Regions from separate parts of the Homo sapiens genome. Here region 2 is linked to region 1. The links are contacts of gene promoters, found by promoter capture Hi-C in human tissues and cell types (Jung and others, 2019). All regions are on one chromosome and are shown on one strand. The core of a region is centred on a gene start or on the middle of the fragment in contact, and the rest is flanking DNA. Distances in the headings are between cores, read along the strand shown. Region 1 holds the start of LEO1 (LEO1 component of Paf1/RNA polymerase II complex). Region 2 overlaps TMOD3 (tropomodulin 3).

Region 1 (6,057 bases), core at 2,062-4,561:
ACTGAAAGAACGAAGATAAAGCCACTCTGAAGTTGTTTTATTTAATCACACACCTAATAGATGAAATTCTCAGGCCTGGTGCGGTGGCTGACGCCAGTAATCCCAGCATTTGGGAGGTTGAGGTGGATGGATCACCTGAGGTCAGGAATTCAAGACCAGCCTGGCCAACATGGTGAAACCCTGTCTTTACTAAAAATACAAAAATTAGCTGGGCATGGTGGTGCATGCCTATAGTCCCAGCTACTTGGGAGGCTGAGACAGGAGAATCACTTGAAGCCGGGAGGCGGAGGTTGCAGTGAGCCAAGGTCATGCCACGGCACTCCAGCCTGGGTGACAGAGCAAGACTCTGTCTTGCGGGGGGGGAAAAAAGAAATTCTCCATTCCTAGGAACAAATGTCAAGATCATCTTTTTTTTTTTTTTTTTTTTTTTGAGACGGAGTCTCGCTCTGTCTCCCAGGCTCGGGTGCAGTGGCGTGATCTCAGCTCACTGCAAGCTCCGCCTCCTGGGTTCATGCCATTCTCCTGCCTCAGCCTCCCCAGTAGCTGGGACTACAGGTGCCCGTCACCATGCCCTGCTAACTTTTTTTTAAATATTTTTAGTAGAGACGGGGTCACTGTGTTAGCCAGGATGGTCTCGATCTCCTGACCTTGTGATCCACCTGCCTCGGCCTCCCAAAGTGCTGGGATTACAGGGGTGAGCCACCGTGCCCGGCCTGTCAAGATCATCTTAACATTCAAAGTTAAATTAGTTGAACACAAACCAAATAGGATTAAATTCTCCATCTCTGGGGGTAAATGAAGTTATTTAGCACTGTAAACTTTAATCAAACTGGGTGTAGTGGCTTACACCTGTAATTCCAACACTTTTGGAGGCCAAGACACGAGGATCACTTGAGGCCAGGAATTCAAGACCAGTCTAGGCAACATAGTGAGACCTTGTTTCTATATATTTTTTTAAGTTTTTAAAAAAGTATTAAAAATAAAATAAACTTCAATCAAAGTGATAACCTCAGGTAAGAAATACTGCAAAATGATTGTGATTGATTTACCTTAAGTCCAATCTCATGTATTATATCCTTTATGAAGAAAGATAATGAGTAGAAGAGCAATGGTCAGCATAAAGTGTAACCAAAACAAGGCTGGGCACGGTGGCTCAGGCCTGTAATTCCATCACTTTGGGAGGCCAAGGCGGGTGGATCACCTGAGGTCAGGAGTTTGAGACCAGCCTGACTAACATGATGAAATCCCATCTCTACTAAAAATACAAAATTAACCGGATATGGTGGCGCATGCCTGTAATCCCAGCTACTCAGAAGGCTGAGGCAGGAGAATCACTCGAACCCGGGAGGTGGAGGTTGCAGTGAGCTGAGATCACGCCATTGTACTCCAGCCTGGGCAACAAGAGCGAAACTCTGTTTAAAAAAAAAAAGTGTAGCCAAAACATAAACAAAAAAATCTGTCCAAGAGTCAGAAGTGATTTGTTTTATACTATTCATATGGGAAAAACACGTTTATTCTGATAGCCAGGAATATGGACATGGTGACTCACCAGACCAAACTGTAATTCAATTTATTAAGATTTAGCCAGGCACTGTGGCCCATACTTGTAATCCCAACGTGTTAGGAGGCCGAGGCAGGAGGACCTCTTGAGGCCAGGAGTTTGAGGCTGCAGTGAGCTATGATGGCGCCACTGCGCTCCAGCCTAGGCAACAGAGACACTGTATCAAAAGAAAATAAATTTAATCAAAGTACTTTTCAGGGACAGTACTCTAAATGAAAATGAAACTGAATCACTGTCAAATGGAATACTTGTTTTTCCAGTATTCCAGATAGTTTTCAGGTTATCTATGTATCTTCTCTTGCAACATCCGCTTCATACACAAAAGCTCTAGGATTGATGATTACATACCCAGTCCCACCCATTTGGACCCTGTTAAGCACTGAAGTTTACTACAAAAATATATATCATATAATCTCCAAACTAAATATTCATTGTTGCTTGTCCAAGACCAAAACTCTCATAATGGCCTAATTAGGTAATGTAACACAGGATGTACTCTTTTCTCACTTTTTCTTCTAAGAAACAGAGCCTTACTCTGTCACTCAGGCTAGAGTGAAGTGGCGTGATCATAGCTCACTGCAGCCTCCAACTCCTGGGCTCAAGTGATCCTCCATTCTCAGTTTCCTGAGTAGCTAGGGCTACAAATGCATGCCATCATGCCTGGCTAATGTTTTTATTTTTAATTATTTTATTTTATTATTATTATTTTTTTGAGATGGAGTCTCGTGCCCAGGCTGGAGTGCAGTGGCGCGATCTCGGCTCACTGCAAGCTCCGCCTCCTGGGTTCACGCCATTCTCCTGCCTCATCCTCCCTAGTAGCTGGGACGACAGGCGCCCACAACCACGCCCGGCTAATTTTTTTTATTTTAGTAGAGACGGGGTTTCACCGTGTTAGCCAGGATGGTCTCGATCTCCTGACCTCGTGATCCACCCGCCTCGGCCTCCCAAAGTGCTGGGATTACAGGCGTGAGCGACCGCGCCCGGCCAAAAAAATGGTCATTTAAAGCTTAAAAAAGCTGTTTGTTAACATGTATATTATTTTTAAATGAATTAGTAACTTAAAAATTTATTACCGTATTAGTAAGAATACAGTAAATATCAATACCCGTACCTGTAATCCCAGCACTTTGGGAGGCCGAGGCGGGCGGATTGCCTGAGCTCCTGAGTTTGCGACCAGCCTGGGCAACACGGTGAAACCCCGTGTCTACTAAAATACAAAAAATTAGCCGGGTGTGGTGGCGGGCGCCTGTCGTCCCAGCTACTCGGGAGGCTGAGGAATTAGAATTGCTTGAACCCGGACAGTGGAGGTTGCTGTGAGCCGAGATCGCGCCACTGCACTCCAGCCTGGGCGACTGAGCGAGACTCCGTCTCAACAATTTTTAAGAGGGTAAAGGGGTTTGGGATGAAATAACTGGAGAACAGCTGCTCAGTAAGAAACAAAGGGCTTCAATCCTGACTCGCGATAGGTTTAATCCAGCCAGAGGCCCTTCCCCAGAGAGCGCCAGTCACCGCCCACCCCATCCACACCCGCAACCGAACGCAGGACCCCCCCGCCCCCTGGTAAGAATCCTGGCAAATAACAGATATTGACGAAATGGCCGGGCTTATATACCATGCATACCCAGGCGAGAACAGGTTCACTGGGCGAGCGAAAACTAGGTCACGTAAGGAAAGGAGTGTCTTCGGCGAATCTTTGCGACACTGTCGTGTTTCAGTGGTTCCGTGCCGTAAAGAGAGGCCGGGAGCTGCCCCTAACCGAGGCAGCAGCGGACGTGAGCGATAATGGCGGATATGGAGGATCTCTTCGGGAGCGACGCCGACAGCGAAGCTGAGCGTAAAGGTGGGTTCGCTGGTCTTCGGAGGATGGGTGCGTGGCAGGCCTTCCGCTGTGGGAGCCGGACAACCGTGGAGGCTCCAGCGCCGCGGGCAAGAGGTGGCGTTTCCTCCACTCCTGCCTCAGCGCCCCCTGCACTCCCGGAGGTGCCATCCTCCTCCGGCGGGCAGGATGGAGAGTCAGACAGTCTGCGCCTCGAGGCTCTGGGTGTCGGTGGAGCAGACGGTTCCTGGGAGCTTGTGGAGCGAAAGGGGCGCGGGGCATGGGTGGAAGTGCAGGCGAGCCTGCGCAGCGCGGGTAGGAACGTTGGAGTCCTGTTCCGCCTTGCCTTGCACAGGCCAGCGTAGAGTAAGGGCTGTTTTTGAATGAATGGAAATGAATGCAGGAATATGGGATGGGGTGGGCGAATTTACAGAGGGCCTCAGAATGCCGTCTTGAATGAAACCAGAGCATGGTGTGATAGGGAGCTTGAGATGTCTGGATGACGAGTCTGGGACGGATAATGGGATGGGGTTACAGATAGATGTTTCACATAGGAGAGAATGTGTTCTCTAAGAGCTTGTGCAGAAACTCCAGAATTTCCGGAGTCTGTGATGTTAGATTGGGGAGTGCATGGGGTCTGTGTACAGAGAGGAGGAATGAAGGATTTGTTGATGAAATGAATGAATTAGTGTATGTGCATGCTGCTTGGAAGTTATTTCTGGCACAGGATTGTGGGTGTTTTTTTAAAGTTTACTTTTTTAGAGACAGGGTCTCACTGTGTTGCTCAGGTTGGCCTTGAACTTCTGGGCTCAAGCCATCCTTCTGCCTCAGCCTCCAAGTAGTTGAGACTACGGGCACTTGAAATATGAATAGGAGCTATTTGAAGTGAGAACCCAAGACCAAGTTCAGAATTCTTGCAACCCTCTAGGCTCCAAGTAAAGTGAGTCTCTTGTAGACAACATATATCTAGTTGTTATTTTCATCACCCCCAAATAAAACACTGTTCATAAAGCACTTACTCCTCATATGCTCCTTCCTCCAACCCCTGTCTGCTATTGTTTCTGTACTTATCTGTTCTGGGAATTTCATATAAATTGAATCATGCATTGTGGTCTTTTGTGTCTGGTTTCTTTTACTTAGCATAATGTCTTCAAGGCATTGTAGCACATATCAGTACTTTATTCATTTTTAATGATTTAATAATATTCCATTGAATGTGCACACCCTAAATTTGTTAATCCATTTATCTGTTGATGGACATTGGGTTGTTTGAATAGTGCTACTGTAAACATTCCTGGTTCCGGCAGGCGGATTTGCCTGAGCTCAGGAGTTGAAGACCAGCCTGGGCAACATGGTGAAACCCTGTCTCTACTAAAAATACAAACTGTTAGCCAGGTGTGGTCGTGCGTGCCTGTAGTCCCAGGTACTCAGAAGGCTGAGGCATGAGAATCACTTGAACCCAGGAGACAGAGGTTGGCAGTGAGCTGAGATTGCATCACTTCACTTCAACCTGGGTGATAAAGTGAGACTCTGTCTCCAAAAAAATAAATAAATTCATGTACATGTTTGGGTGCCTGTTTTTAATTTTGGGAGGAGGGTATTATGTAGGAGTGCAGAGTCATATGGTAATTCTTTAATATTTTGAGGAGCAGCCAAACTGTTTTCCATAGTGGTTGAGCCATTTTACATTACCACCAGCAATGCACCAGGGTTCCCTTTCCCCACATCTTTGCCAACAGTTATTTTAAGTTTTTATTTGTTTCTAAAGTAGCCATCCTTGATGTTATCAAGTGGTGTCTCATTGTGGTTTCAGTTTACACTTTCCCAAAGGCTAATGATGCTGAACATCTTTTTTTTTTTTTTTTTTTTTTTTAACGGAGTCTCAGTCTGTCTCCCAGGCTGCAGTGCAGTGGTACAATCTTGGCTCACTGCAACCTCCGCCTCCGGGTTCAAGCAATTCTCCTGCCTTAACCTCCCGAGTAGCTGTGATTACAGGCACCTGCCACCATACCCTACTAATTTTTGTATTTTAAGTAGAGATGAGGTTTTGTCATGTTGGCCAGGCTGGTTCCAAACTCCTGACCTCAGGTGATCCACCTGCCTCGGCCTCTCAAAGTGCTAGGTTCAAGCGATTCTCCTGCCTTTGCCTCCTGGGTTCAAGTGATTCTCCTCCCTTATCCTCCCGAATAGCTGGGATTACAGGCGCCTGCCACCACACCCTGCTAATTTTTGTATTTTTAGTAGACATGAGGTTTTGCCATTTTGGCCAGGCTGGTCTCAAACTCCTGACCTCAGGTGATCTGCCTGCCTCGGCCTCTCACAGTGCTGGGATTACAGGTGTGAGCCACTGCGCCCAGCCGTTGAACATCTTTTCATGTATTTATTGGCCATTTGTGTAACTTTGTTTGGAGAAATGTCTATTCAAGTCCTCTGTTTTAAAAAAATTGGTTTTAGGCCAGGCACAGTGGCTCACGCCTGTAATCCCAGCACTTTAGGGGGCTGAGGTGGGTGGATCACCTGAGGTCAGGAGTTCGAGACCAGCCTGGCCAACATGGTGAAACCCTATCTCTACTAAAAATACAAAAAAATTAGCCAGGTGTGGTGGCGTGCGCCCATAAACTTGGGAGGCTGAGGTAGGAGAATCGCTTGAGGGAGGCAGAGGTTGCAGTGAGCCAAGATT
Region 2 (6,057 bases), core at 1,734-4,233, 55 kb after region 1:
CAAGATTAGACCCCCAGCTATACAACAACAACAACAACAACAACAAAAATAAAATAAAATAAAATAAAATAAAAAATTAGCTGAGCACAGGTAGTCCCAGCTACTTAGGAAGCTTAGGCAGGAGGATCAATGGAACCTAGGAGGTCGAGGCTGCAGTGAGCCGTCATCATGCCACTGCGTTCCAGCATGGGCAACAGAGCAAGACCCTGTCTGAAAACAAAAAATTTTCTCTAGATTACTTATAATACAATATAAATGCTATGTAGGCCGGGTGCAGTGGTTCATGCCTGTAATCCCAGCACTTTGGGAGGCTGAGGCGGGCGGATCACCTGAGGTCAGGAGTTCGAGACCAGCCTGGCCAACATGGTGAAAACCCATCTCTACTAAAAATACAAAAATTAGCCGGGCATGGTGGTGCATGCCTAGAATCCCAGCTATTTGGGAGGCTGAGGCAGGAGAACTGCTCGAACCCAGGACATGGAGGTTGCAGTGAGCCGAGGTTGCAGTGAGCCGAGATCGCGCCACTGCACTCCAATCTGGGAAATGAGCAAAACTCTGTCTCAAAAAAAAAAAAAAGTAAGTGTCCCTTCAGCCCTGACCACTGCCCAGGGGAAACCTAGGTTCAGTTGCCTGATCTAGGCAGTGTCTGTGGGGACACACATTGGCTACCAAGGGTGGAGAAACTGGGCTCTAACGTGAAGGGCTGGCTCGTCACTGTCAGGTCAGAACCATTTTAGATAAAATTTCCAGAAACATTTTATATTGAATTTTATGTCTTACCTCTCATATTTATTCAGGTAAACCTTCCAGAAAGAGGAAAGCAGAGCATGAAGAGGAAGAAGATGATATAAAGCCCTAAAATGTGCACTCATTGTATTCAATAGTTTGTTTTAAAACAATTATGAAATGACTTGTTTTAACTGAAGTTGAGTTGCTTTTGCATAATCCTAGTTGTGAATAAAAAGTTTTCAAAAGCAAGTCCACGATGTTAGAAAATTCATTTTTTCCCAAAGAGGAGGATTTTGTTAACTGTTTACTGTGAGTGGATCTTAGGTTTTAGTGCATTCCTGCTGTTAAGTTTGGCTCAGTTGTGGCCTCCTCCAGGATGTCCTCTGGCCTGCCTAGCTGGGTTTGGGGCCTTTCTGTGCTCTGTAGTCCCCTTAGTATGGCATTAATTCCATTTCCCATATGGCACTGTGCTCTTGGAAGAGCAGGTACAGCAGGGAGAGCTCACTGGATACCTGGTACTTAACCAGAGCTGTGTGGGCCTGACCACTTCTAATCCTTAGGGCAGGTGCTGTTATACCCCTTTTATAGATGTGGAAGCTGAGGTTTAAAGAGCTTAAGCCCTCTGTACAAAGCTTTTACTTAAGTAAACAAGTAAGCTTTTCTGAGACAAGGGTTAGGATCTTCCATGCACAGTGATCACAATGCTGGGCTAATACTTTAGTGACCTTATGGAGACAGATACCCAAAATATCTACCTGAGATAAACAGGCACCATTAGGTTTAGGGAAAAGGGCAATGGGAAACAAAATACCGGACTTGATTTCTAGTTTTGTGATTGCTACAATAGCTGGAATATAATAGAACCTAAAAACTATTTACTGAATGAACAAACAAATGCTGTTATGTTGGGCAGTCCCTTCTCTGACATCAGTTTCTTGAACTAGGTGGGCTTTAGATTTGACCACACAAATCCTTCAATTCAATGTTTATATTTCTCTACCTCTGAGAGTTGAATACTAGATAAATATTTTAAAATGTTTTGTTAAGTAGAAATGATCAAAGGGGAAAAAAAAGCCCATTTCACCATGCCGAAAACCCCACTTTACAATTCTATTTCCTTCCCTTTTATACTTTTACAGCATAATTTCGTGCTTGTATATTAAACACATTCATAATTAGCACTAGCTTCTAAAGGAGAATTGAAAGACTCATTCAGAACAATGAAGGGTACTAGCACAACTTAATTGTAACATCAGGTATTCTTTCTAAGGGGCTGGCCTTGAGGATCTGGTATGTCTGTGAACAGCACAGGAGCTGGGGGACTGGGTTGGGATCTACAAGCCCTCAACCTTTGCAGACCATGCAGGAAAGCTTAAAGTTGAAGGAAAAAAATGTTTGGAAATTTTGGACTCACAAATTTTCAAGCCACTCCCACTATTTGGTACCTATAAGAGCAGTGGTAGCACCAGGCTGAGCATTTTTAGTTGGACTGCTTTGGAGGACATGGTGAGGGCGCTGTTGCCTCACAGCCAGTCCCTGGCACTCAAGTCCTCTTGAACTCAGGGGAACAGCTCACAATTCAAGCACCTGAATCTCCCTGACTCACCAAAGGGAATATGCATTGAGGCTTCCTGTACATGAATGTGAAGCTCAACAGCCATTCTCAGAAGGCAGAACGACATTAAAGATTCCAGGTCAATTTCTTTATTCCCCTAAGTCAGGAAAACTCTGAAAACTTTAAATTATTTAACCTTTATCCTTAAGTTTCCTCAAACCCATTACACATTTCCCTGGTTTTCTCTTTTTTTTTTTTGAGACGGAGTCTCACCCTGTCACCTAGGCTGGAAGTACAGTGGCGCGATCTCAGCTCACTGCAACCTCTGCCTCCTGGGCTCAAGCGATTCTCCTGTCTCAGCCTCCTGAGTAGCTGGAATTATGGACACCCGCCAATGCACCTAATTTTTGTAGTTTTAGTAGAGACGGGGTTTCGCCATGTTGGCCAGGCTGGTCTTGAACTCCTGACCTCAGGTGATCCGCCCACCTTGGCCTCCCAAAGTGTTGGGATTACAGGTGTGAGCCTCTGAGCCCAGCCTTTTTTTTTTTTTTTTTTTTTTTTTTTTGAGAAGGAGTCTTGCTCTGTTGCCCAGGCTGGAGCACAGTGGTGATCTCAGTTCATTGTAGCCTCTGCCTCCCGGGTTCAAGCGATTCTCCTGCCTCAGCCTCCTGAGTACCTGGGATTACAGGCGTGTGCCATCACACCCGGCTAATTTTTGTATTTTTATTAGAGATGGGGTTTTGCCATGTTGGCCAGGCTAGTCTCAAATTCCTGACCTCAGGTGATCTGCCCACCTCAACCTACCAAAATGCTGTGATTACAGGTGTGAGCCATCATGCCTGACCTGGTTTTCTCTTTTGATTCATGGATATAGGTGATTGATAAGAGATGTCTTTGCTTTACTGTAAAAGCCATCTCTAGTTTATTAGAAGGACTGGTTCCCATCAGGTTCAGAGTGTACTGTATCACAGGACCCTGCTCTTTTCTTTTCTTTTTTTTTTTTTTTAAGACAGAGTCTCACTCTATTGCCCAGGCTGGAGTGCAGTGGCGCGATTTCAGCTCATTGCAACCTTCACCTCCTGGGTTCAAGTTATTCTCCTGCCTCAACCTCCTGAGTAGCTGGGACTACAGGCATGCACCACCATGCCTGCCTAATTTTTGTATTTTTAGTAGAGACAGAGTTTCACCATGTTGGCCAGGCTGGTCTTGAACTCCTCACCTCAGGTGATCCGCCTGCCTCGGCCTCCCAAAGTGCTGGGATTACAGGCGTGAGCCACCGCACCTGTCCGACCCTGCTCTTTGCGTATTTGTCAACTCAATTCAATTTTATGAACAGACAGGACCTAGTACTGATGATATTAGGTTGAACCTTAGGAAATTACTATTTTTATGAGTAAAAGTGTTCAACTATTATAACTAATTTTATATGATTCAACTTAATATGGTGGTATTTAGCCAGGTCAGATTGTCCTAACAAGATACCATAGACTGGGTGGCTTAAATAACAGAAATTTATTGCTTACGTTCCTAGAGGCTGGGACGTCCGAGATCATGGTTTGGTTCCTGGTGAGGGTTCCCTTCCTGGCTTGCAGACAGCTGCTGTTTTGCTGTATCTTCACATGATGGAGAGAGTCTCCTGTCTCTTTGTATAAGAACACAAATGCCATCATAAGGGGACCAACCTTGTGACCCTATCTAGCCTTAATTACCTTCCAAAGGCCCCATCTCCAAATACCATCACATTGGAGGTTAGGGCTTCAACATGTGAATTTGGGGTGGGGGGGCGGGTGTGGATACAAACATTCAGTCCATAACAGGTAGGACTGAATAACTCAGGGAAACTGATAAACTTTTTCTTGAAGAAGGATGTAAGGAATGAATTTTAGAACTTAGGAACTAAAGGGATTATGTGCTTTTTCAAAAAGTCCAAGTTTACAGAATATTTGATAAACTTTATTGAAACGATTTATCCCAGTATATATTGGTAAGTTCTAAATGCTTCCAGTACATAGTCTTCAAAAGAAACTTCACTGTGCTGTTATGAATTTGGATAATATTTTGTATTATTTAAATACCAGTGTTAAAATTCATTGCTTTTATACTTATAAAAATGGAAAAATAGGGCAATTACAATGTTGGATATTTTAGCATTAGAAAAAAACGTAAATACCTGATTTCATGTGACAATGAATGACATTCAAATGATTGTTAGAAAGGTAATTTTCAAGCTTTTAAATGTAACTAAAACCAAATATAATAATTCATCCAAAAAACTGAAAAAAAGACATTTGAAATTACAAAAATTTTTATGTTATACGTGTATATACATTTGAAAAAACAATTCTTAAATGGATTGATCTGAAAATTTGAAACCACTGAATCAAAAGCTTATCTTTCTGAGTAGAGGTGAAATTTAAACTTCTAAAAACTGCTATATACACCCACCAAGAAGCACCAATAATTCATTCTTAAACCTTACTTTCTGAATGTATAGACTATAATATTTGAAACATTTTAGGCCAATTAATTGCTTTGCATCAATTAAAACATACTGAGTGTAGAAAAGGGAGTAAAACCTCATATATATAGATTCTAAGAGGTGTCTGTCTTACGAATGTAATAATTTGGGCTGGGCGCGGTGGCAAACACCTGTAATCCCAGCACTTTGGGAGGCCGAGGCGGGTGGATTACGAGGTCAGGAGTTCGAGACCAGCCTGGCCAAGATGGTGAAACTCCGTCTCTACTGAAAATACAAAAATTAGTCAGGCGTGGTGGCGGGCACCTGTAGTCCCAGCTACCCAGGAGGCTGAGGCAGGAAAATCATCTGAACCCAGGAGGCGGAGGTTGCAGTGAGCTGAGATCGCACCATTGCGCTCCAGCCTGGGCGACAAGAGTGAACCTCCATCTTAAAAAAAAAAAAGAACTTAATAATTTGTTACAGCTATGTTAGCAAAACACTGCTGGTGGTATTTCTTAATACATATATTTTTTTGAGATGGAGTCTCACTCTGTCACCCAGGCTGGAGTGCAATGGCACAATCTCGGCTCACTGCAACTTCTGCCTCCCAGGTTCAAGTGATTCTCCTGCCTTAGGCTCCCAAGTAGCTAGAATTACAGGTGCGCATCACCACGCCCAACTAATTTTTTGTATTTTTAGTAGAGATGGGGTTTCACCATGTTGGCCAGACTGGTCTCGTACTCCTGACCTCAAGTGATCCGCCCACCTCAGCCTCCACAGTGCTGGGATTACAAGTGTGAGCCACTGCACCCGGCCATTACAATCTATTTTTATCTAGCCTCTAGAGCAGGTGTCCTAAGTAAAAGACAAAAACAACAACAAAAAAACCCATTTTTTTGTTTTGTTTTGTTTTTTGAGACAGTCTCACTCTTGTTACCCAGGCTGGAATGCAGTGGCATGATCAAAGCTCACTGCTGCTTCAACCTCCCAGGCTCAAGCAATTCTCCCACTTTAGACTCCTAAGTAGCTGGTACTATAGGTGTCTGGCTAATTTTTAAATTTTTTGTAAAGATGGGGTCTTGCTATGTTGTCCATGGTAGTCTCAAACTCCTGGTCTCAAGTAATCCTCCCTGCTTGGTCTCCCAAAGTACTATGAGTATAGCTCTTTTTTTTTTTTTTTTTTTGAGATAAGAGTTTCACTCTCATTGCCCAGGCTAGAGTACAGCAGCATGATCTCATCTTACTGCAACCTCCACCTCCTAGGCTCAAGCGGTTCTGCTGCCTCAGTCTTCCGAGTAGATGGGACTACAGGCAT

What was found. Contacts are between HindIII fragments. The study calls those that stand out against the background at their distance.
Region 2: a contact is called between a fragment that was not itself captured here and the fragment with the promoter of LEO1 in region 1, in 1 of the 25 tissues and cell types used here (small bowel).

Annotation. Positions count from the first base shown.
Region 1 is chr15:51,969,032-51,975,088 of GRCh38, reverse strand. It overlaps LEO1 (LEO1 component of Paf1/RNA polymerase II complex), which reads left to right and starts at 3,311. Exons shown (of 12, transcript NM_138792.4): 1 at 3,311-3,401. The coding sequence starts at 3,344. It also overlaps a transcript of MAPK6 not described here. RefSeq lists enhancers at 3,042-3,617, 3,265-3,794, 3,618-4,194. The HindIII fragment of the contact is 14,890 bases long and covers 1-6,057 here.
Region 2 is chr15:51,913,884-51,919,940 of GRCh38, reverse strand. TMOD3 (tropomodulin 3) reads right to left here. Exons shown (of 10, transcript NM_014547.5): 10 at 4,216-6,057. LOC112268148 (a long non-coding RNA gene) reads right to left here and starts at 800. Exons shown (of 3, transcript XR_007064635.1): 1 at 1-800. It also overlaps the pseudogene LOC100422556. The HindIII fragment of the contact is 3,219 bases long and covers 1,374-4,592 here.